Linked DNA regions of Homo sapiens: all the other regions are linked to region 2. The links are contacts of gene promoters, found by promoter capture Hi-C in blood cells and fetal thymus (Javierre and others, 2016). All regions are on one chromosome and are shown on one strand. The core of a region is centred on a gene start or on the middle of the fragment in contact, and the rest is flanking DNA. Distances in the headings are between cores, read along the strand shown.

What was found. The method cuts DNA at HindIII sites, captures the fragments that hold promoters and counts their contacts. A CHiCAGO score of 5 or more calls a contact.
Region 1: a contact is called between a fragment that was not itself captured here and the fragment with the promoter of EPC1 in region 2, in 5 of 17 cell types (activated CD4 T cells, megakaryocytes, naive CD4 T cells and 2 more). The highest score is 8.2, in activated CD4 T cells.
Region 3: a fragment that was not itself captured here is called in contact with the fragment with the promoter of EPC1 in region 2 in 3 of 17 cell types (total B cells, naive CD4 T cells and activated CD4 T cells); the score reaches 5.8 in total B cells.

Annotation. Positions count from the first base shown.
Region 1 is chr10:32,249,907-32,252,659 of GRCh38, forward strand. No RefSeq gene overlaps it. Among named protein-coding and RNA genes, the nearest start is that of EPC1, 96 kb to the right of the region's middle. The HindIII fragment of the contact is 468 bases long and covers 1,134-1,601 here.
Region 2 is chr10:32,345,815-32,348,572 of GRCh38, forward strand. EPC1 (enhancer of polycomb 1) reads right to left here and starts at 1,344. Exons shown (of 14, transcript NM_001272004.3): 1 at 949-1,344. The coding sequence starts at 1,101. EPC1-AS1 (EPC1 antisense RNA 1) reads left to right here and starts at 1,550. Exons shown (of 2, transcript NR_104163.1): 1 at 1,550-1,661. RefSeq lists silencers at 375-654, 1,325-1,794, 1,805-1,934 and enhancers at 875-974, 995-1,054. The HindIII fragment of the contact is 3,163 bases long and covers 425-2,758 here.
Region 3 is chr10:32,280,996-32,283,942 of GRCh38, forward strand. The region is part of intron 10 of EPC1 (enhancer of polycomb 1); the gene reads right to left. Among named protein-coding and RNA genes, the nearest start is that of EPC1, 65 kb to the right of the region's middle. The HindIII fragment of the contact is 538 bases long and covers 1,079-1,616 here.

The sequences.
Region 1 (2,753 bases), core at 118-2,617, 96 kb before region 2:
ACCCAGTCTCTACTAAAAATACAAAACATTAACTGGGTGTGGTGGCTGGTTCAAACTTCATTATCTCCATAAAGGCCCTTTCTCCAAATACAGTCACACTGGGGGTTGGGGCTTTAACATATGAATTCTGAGTAGACTCAATTCATTCAACAGCATCATGTAAGAGGAATCATACAGTATTTGATTTTTTGGTGTGTTATTCTTCATGTCCTTATAAGAAGAGACACAGAGGCTGGGCATGGTGGCTCACGCCTGTAATCCCAACACTTTGGGAGGCTGAGTCAGGCAGATTGCTTGAGGTCATGAGTTCGAGACCAGTCTGGCCAACATGGTGAAACCCCGCCTCTACTAAAAATAGAAAAATTAGCTGGACATAGTGGTGGGTGCCTGTAATCACAGCTACTCGAGAAGCTGAGGCAGAAGAATCTCTTGAACCTGAGAGGCGGAGGTTGCAGTGAGCAGAGATTGCACCACTGCACTCTAGCCTGGGCAACAGAGTGAGACTCCATCTTCAAAAAAAGAAAAAAAAAAAGAAAAGAAAACACACTTTCATTTCCAAAAAAAAAAAAAAAGACACAGAGACGTCTGTTTCTCCCTGCCACCTAAGAACATAGTGAGAAGGCCACAGCCTACAGCTAGAAAGAGAGCCCTCACCAAAACCGACTATGCTGGCACTTTGATCTCAGGCTTTTGGCCTCCAGAACTTCAGCCTGTCTGTTAAGTTACCCAGTTTATGATATTTTGCTGTGGCAGCTCAAGCTGACTAAGGCATGCAAGGGACCTAGAGTAGTCAAATTCACAGAGACAGAAAGTAGAACAGTGGTTACCAGGGGCTAGGGGGAGAGGGGACTGGGAAGTTACTGTTTACTTACAGTTTCCGTTTAAGATGACAAAAAATTCTGAAGGTGGATAGTGGTGATGGTTACATAGCAATATGAATGTATTGAATGCCATTGAACTGTACATTGAAAGATGATTAAAATGGTACATTTTATGTTATCTATATCTTACCACAATTTTAAAAATTAAAAAAAAGGAAAAAAGCTTGTAAAAAGCTCAAAAAAAAAAAAAGAGTCTAAAGGACATTTTATGGCCTCTCTGGAACCCTGGTTCTGTATGGCCAGCCTCGGTCAAGCTTCCACCTTTCCTGTCATCTCCTCACAGACACACTGAAGATGTTCTGCTAGTGGCTTTGGGATACACACAGTTCAGCAGATAAGGCACAGGAGAACATTTTAAGTTCTGTCTAAATGAGCTCTAGAGCTCTGCTGTCACTGAATTTAAAAGTCTTTTTTCCCAAGAGTAAAACAAATTCAAGAAGGAAAAATGCATGCAGCTGGAGCCTGAATGAGCAGTTTTGTCTCCCAAGACCGGAAAACACCTGTTCCCAGCAGACTTTCTATTGAATTTTATATGGCTTTCAAAAATAGCCCACTTCTTAGCTGACTGGCAAGATTTAGTTATGTTTGGTTGTCTTCCACAATTTTATCTAAGCTCTAGCAATCACACAACATTTTATTTATTTTTTTAGCAGGGAAATGGGTATACAAAATTACTGTCGTAGCTTTCCTAGATCAACTTGTAGTTTTGATAAATCCGGAAGCTTATGACAGCAAAGCACATGTTGTTAGAAAGCACTGGAATCAAGATAGACAACCAGAAGGGGCTTGAGACGACAGAGCCCTGCGACTCCGGGCAGGGGCTCTTGGGCCAGCAGTGTTAGTAGACTCTCAGAGTTTGCTAGAAATGCGGAACCTTCAGCTGCACCCCAGACCCACTGAATCAAAACCTGCATTTTCACAAAATCTCCGGGAATACTCACTCAAGTTTGAGAAGCTCTGAGAGTGACCTTCAGAACTTCCTCAGTGGAATTGCCTGAACACTGATTAAAAATGCATATTCCTGGGTCCTGCCCAACACCTGTGAAAATTACCCCATTATGATTCTTAGACAAACAAGTTTCAGAACTATCGCAGTAGGTGTCTCTTAGGAAGGAAAGCTACTCTGGTGGGGTGCAGTGGCTCATGCCTGTAACCCCAGTACTTTGGGAGGCCAAGAGGAGAGACCAAGACTTGCCTGGGTAATGTAGCGAGACCACCATGTCTAGATATATATTAAAAAATTAGCTGGGCATAGTGGCACATGTCTGTAGTCCTAGTTATTAGGGAGAATTGCTTATGCCTGGGAGTTCGAGACTGCAATGAGCTATATGATTGAGCCACTGCACTCCAGCCTGGGTGACAAAGCAGTACCCGGTCTCAAAAAAAAAAAAAAAAAAAAGGCCGGACACAGTGGCTTACACCTGTAATCCCAGCACTTTGGGAGGCCAAGGCGGGCAGATCACCCAAGGTCAGGAGTTTGAGACCAGCCTGGCCAACATGGCCAAACCCTGTCTCTACTAAAAATAAAAAAAAATTAATAAAATTTTAAAAATTAGCTATGTATGGTGGTGCATGCCTGTAGTCCTAGCTACTCGGGAGGCTGAAGCAGGAGGATCGCTTGAATGTGGGAGATGAAGGCTGCAGTGAGCCTAGATTGCGCCATGATTGTGCCACTGCACTCCAGTCTGGGTGACAGAGCAAGACTCCAGAAAAATAAAAAAAGAAAGGAGGAAGGAAGGAAGGAAGGAAGGAAGGAAGGAAGGAAGGAAGGAAGGAAGGAAGGAAGGAAAGAAAAGAAAGACCCTTTGTGCTACTGGAATTTGAAGGGCCCTTTTCTCTCCACTCCTGGTTTTGTTACAGGAAAGGGGTCCT
Region 2 (2,758 bases), core at 94-2,593:
AGAAAGGATCCTCCTTCGAAATTTAGATCTATAAAAGTTACTTAAATTGGGTCTTTTCTCCCCCTATGTTGAGATACCAGAGAGCAGGAGAACTTAAATTTATTTTACAAATAGGTAAGGTTACAGGCTTCAGAAGAGAGAGGTACTCCAAACAAATCTGCAAGATATTCGCAAGGATCACAGAAAAAGTCAGGGATAGTGGTTTATTATCCTCCGACCAACTAGCTCTGGAGAGGGATGGATACAAACGTCCCAGAAAGAGGACACTGAAAGTAAGTCTTATCTTCTAGAAAAGTAAGTCGTCCGGGCAAACACGCTGCACCCTCGACATTTCCTTGCAGAGGGGGAGAAAAGCCTCATAGAGCAGCAGGCGACATGACATGCCCGTCTGAGGCTCCACGTGGGGGCTGCACTGAGCCCAACAAGCTTCCCAGACCATGGGGCAATCAAATTCCCCGACTGTGCACAGAACCTGCGCTCCCGGCCCGGGCAGCGGCGCGCAGGCCGCAGTGGCCCTGGAGCGCCACCCAGCGGCCCACGGAGAGGCCTGTAGGCGGGTCCTCCACGGCTCCCGACTCGCCGCACCCCCACAGCCACCCAGCCCGTTCCCCTCTCCGGATGCACAAGGCCCAACCCAAGAACTAAGACACAAAATGGCTGCCGGCAGCTTCGTCACGTGACCCCTTTGTGCCTTTCGGGCCCCCGAACTCCGCGGGACCCGGGTACAAGTGGCCAGGGTCAGCGGGTGGCCTTAGAAGGGGCCCCGCTGGGCCGCGGCGGCCGGGGGTCGAGGCTGGGGGAGGCGGGGTATAGGCCCGGCCGGCGACTGAGAGTCGGCGGCGAAGAGAAGATGGCGGCCATTTTGTGTGGGTTTGCTGCTCCGCCGCCGCCGCAGGCAGCAGAGGGAGCGGGCCTGACGGTGGGTCGGACAGGGGAGTTAACACGTACCGACTCCTCTTCCTTCTCCATTCCGGTGGGCATCTGCGGCACGGCCCTGTTTATCGAGGCGTATTCGTGCAGGTCGGGCAGATCCTCACAGCGGAAAACCGGCAGCGGCTTCGAGGCGTCTAGCGCCCGCGCCCGAAACGACAGTTTACTCATCTCAGGCGCAGCAGATACCTCTCCGCTCTGGGGAAACGGCCCCGGCCAGCGGGATCATGGAGAACCGGGGGTTCGGTCCCCACTCGCCAACCGCTGCCGGGGACTTGAGGGGCGGAGCGCAGAGCCCGCCGTCCGGGCACTAACACCAGCCGGGAGGGTGGGAGGCTGTGCCGCTCCGCTCCTCTCTCGCTCGCTCTCTTCAATACGCCATGGCCAACATGGCGGACATTAAAACTCCACTGTGCGCTCTTCAGCCAACCCCAGCCATTCCCCACACTGCATCGCGCAGCGGCGCGGGCACGCGGGCGGGGGGAGGGAGCGCGGGCTCGAGGCCGGCGCCGGCACGAAGCGCGCGTCCCGCCAACCCCCGGCACCCGCCGGCCTCGCTTCCCGCGCCTCGCTGCTCCGGGCCCCCGCCCTTCGCGGGTCCGGGGGCGGACAGGGCGGACTGGGCGCTCGGACACCGGGCGCCGGCTCTTGGGTCGTGCTCTCCTGCAGCGCACACGCTCACTTTCTCACGCTCGCTCCCTCCCGGCGCCGCTTTCTGACGGGCGAACAAGGTGCGGGAAAACTCTCTCCACCAGCACGCCGCCGTTTGGAAAGGCAGCTGGGGAGAGTGGCAGGCGGGGCTCGGGCCCCGGGCACCTGGGGCTCGGAGGGCTCGGACCTCTGGGGTGCTCGCCAGCGGCTGCCCCGGGGCCACGGCCGCCCCCACGGGGCTTCGGAGGGGCGCTCCAGAGGCGCCGCGCGCCGCCGTCTGCCGCGGGGGGCGAACGCACAGCCTAGTTCCCGCGGCGCCTTAGGTCTTTACGATAAAAATACAAACTGAATTAGGGGCAGATGCTACTTTGAGTAAACTTTTATCAGCAGTTATTTTTATGTCCTAATGCAACTTTGGATTATAATGTTTTATAGGCACCGCATCAAGTCATTGATCCGTTTCCCACGCATTGGGCTTAATATAAATGATAGGTATCCTATTCTACAAAGTAGATTTTTTTAAATCCTGCATTTTCATCTACACATATTTACTTTTTAAATAGTAACTGAAGCAAAGGAAATTATTACCCACCACTATAACATTTAAAAGCAAGATCTACTTCAGAATTTAAAGCCAGTTCTTTATATCTAGCTCATGATTCTGTACTCAAAGAGACTGCGGCTTCATCATAGCCGTGGGTTCACACTTTCATCATTTGTCCTCTGAAAAACTTTGTAACATTGAATCATATAAAGACCTGTCGTACTCCCGCCAAACAAAAAGCTGAATTATTAGATTTAGATGGATATGATAGATGGGTGGCATCGGTTTATATTACACATGAAAATGGGTATCCTGAGATCTCTTCGTTGTTGTTGTTGTTAATAGGGAAGATTGTTGGGGTGGGTTTAATAAATTGGCAGCCAAATTTCAATTCGAGTTTCAATTTGTATCTTAGTGCACAATTTTGTATCTTGTGCAACAAGATACAAAAAGATACAAAAATGTTTTGAGTTGCTTTTCTCCCTGGGAACTACGTAGTAAAAGTAATCACGCTCCTTAAATACTGGGCTTGATATGAGCTGTCACTAGCTTAGGGCACACAGGCAAACTGCTAGCCTCCAGGCTGGTTTAGCCAGCTCCCGCGGGGTAGGGAGAAAACAGGACGGATTGCAG
Region 3 (2,947 bases), core at 98-2,597, 65 kb before region 2:
AGTCAAAATGCAGTCAATACTTTGTTTCATGCATAATTTTTATTATTTATTTATTTTGAGATGGAGTCTTGCCCTGTCACCCAGGCTGGAGTGCAGTGGCGTGATGTTGGCTCACTGCAACGTCTGCCTCCTGGGTTCAAGTGGTTTTCCTGCCTCAGCCTCCCGAGTAGCAGGAATTACAGGCACCCACCACCACGTCTGGCTAATTTTTGTATTTTTAATAGAAACGTGTTTTGCCATGTTGGCCAGGCTGGTCTTGAACTCCTGATCTGAGGTGATCTCAGGCAATCTGCCTGCCTCGGCCTCCCAAAGTGCTGGGATTACAGGCATGACCCACTGTGCCTGGCCTGACTCTTCTGTTTTAATTAGCCCAACACTGCCAGTTTTTCTGCTGGCATCAGACTACATCAGAGTTTCTTTGGTTAAGTGCCAGAGGAAGTAGTCTGGTTTGTATGTGGGGGCCATGCTGTATGAAAATTAAAAATTATCTTTAAAATCACAATTACTACTGAATGAGGTAAGATGCTTAACCTATGAATAAAGTGGCAATGCGGGCACTCACGCCGTAAGAGGACCAACACATTCAACTTCCCCTACTCCAGGCTCACTCTGGAGAATATATTCTTTCAGTAAATTGTATTTAGAATTCTGTATAACATTTGAGCTGCTACATTTTCTCTTTTTTTTTTTTGAGATGGAGTCTCACTCTGTCGCCCAGGCTGGAATGCAATGGCACAATCTCGGCTCACTGCAACCTCTGACTCCCAGGTTCAAGCCATTCTCCCTGCCTCAGCTTCCTGAGTAGCTGGGATTACAGGCGCCTGCCATCATGCCCAGCTAATTTTTGTATTTTTTAGTAGAGACCAGGTTTCGCCATATTAGCCAGGCTAGTGTGGAACTCCTGACCTCAGGTGATCTGCCCGCCTCGGCCTCCCAAAGTACTGGGATTACAGGCATGAGCCACCACACTTGGCCTAAATTTTGTTTTTTTTTTCTTCAGGGGCCTGGAGTTGGATTAAGTGAAATGCACTTATGATATGGCTGCATTGTAATATACTTTATAAAGTATGCAGAGAAAAGCTTTAGGTCTCTGGAATATTCACAAATATAAATGAACAGTGTTACCCTACAGTAGTCTGTAGGTATCTATCCTCTAAGTATTAGAAGATCTAGCAAAATTTAAGGAGAAATTGAAAATAATTAAGACAACAGGAAAAAAAATAGATAAACTCATTTTTAAAAAGTAGTATTGAGGCTGGGTGCAGTGGCTCACCCCTGTAACCCTAGCACTTTGGGAGGCCAAGGCAGGAGGATCACTTGAGGCCAGGAGTTCAAGACTAGCCTGGGCAACATAGACCCTATCTCTTACAAAAAATTAGCCAGTCATGGTGGCATACGCCTGCAGTCCTAGCTACCCAGGAGGCTGAGGTTGGGGGATCACTGAGCCTGGGAAGTTGAGGCTGCAGTGAGCCATGACTGTGCCACTATACTCCAGTCTGGGTGACAGAGAAAGATCCTGTCTTAAATAAATAAATAAATAGTTGTATCGCATATATGGAGGAAAGAAATGATAAAGAAGAAAAATTACAAGGTTACTAATGATTTCTTTTCAGCTAAGCTTTTGGTAATGCTCATCTTTTAATGTTCTTTGGGCAAACACAAATCAAACAATTTTTACAACTGTTATTAATATGCCTAAAGCAGTATAGCAAAACATTTTTCATAAAAAAAGAGCATTATAAAATCCTTAAATATTTAGGATAGTTATACACTTCAACTTCTCTATTTAAGGGGTGGAGAAGATGGAGATTGATGGAACATGCCTATTTTCTGAGAAGTCTTAAAGAATTTTTACAGCTTAGAAAGCTTAATTATCAGGGTAACCTATGACAGGTTTATACTGTTAAAACCTCTATACTAACACTATAAGTAAGTCTTTATTGAAAAGTTCTTTATTTTGATTCTTAAGACTATAAAAGTAGAGAGAAACTGGCTTTTGGTGATAAAGACAGTAACATTAATGGGATTATAAATAAGCTGTTAGTCCCTAAAATAGCTTTATCTTCCAGCTGATTTCTGAATTGTGATTATTTTTCTCATGAGCTGAAAGACTTCCATTTCATAGAAGTACAGCTGACCCTTGAATAACATGGGTTTGAACTGCCTGGGTCTACTTATTTGTAAATTATCTTCTGCCTCTGTCACCTCTCAGATGACAAGACCAACCCCTCCTCCCCCTCAATGTGAAGATGACAAGGATAAAGACCTTTATGATGATCCACTTACACTTAATGATTAGTAAATGTATTTTCTCTCCTTTATGAATTTCTTTTTTTTTTGAAACAGGGTTTTGCTTTGCTGTGAAGCCTGGAATGCAGTGGCATGATCTTGGCTCACTGCAGCCTTGACCTTCTGGGCTCCTACCACCTCAGTCTCCTGAGTAGCTGAGACTACAGGCGCTCACCACCACACCCAGTGAATTTCTGCATTTTTTGTAGAGATGAGGTTTCACCATGTTGCCCAGGCTGGTCCTGAACTCCTGGGCTCAAGCAATCTGCCCACTTTAGCCTCCCAAAGTGCTGGGATTACAGGCATGAGCCACCATGCCTGGCTCTATAAATTTCTTAATAACATGTTCTTTTTCCTAGCTTATTTTAAGAATGAAGTACAGAATACATATAACATACAAAACATGTATGTTTGGACTGTTTATGTTAATGGACTAATGGACTGTTTATGTTATTGGTAATTCTGGTCAGGAGCAGACTATTAGTCAAGTTTTTGGGGAGTCAAAAGTTATACATGAATTTTGGACTGCAATTGGGGGGTGCCCCTAACCCTCATGTTGTTCAGGGGTCAACTGTACTTTTTTTTAACCACCAAGTAAATTAGTTTACGGAACATTTTCTGGAGGTCTTTAAGAATCAGAGCAAATGTTCATATTTAT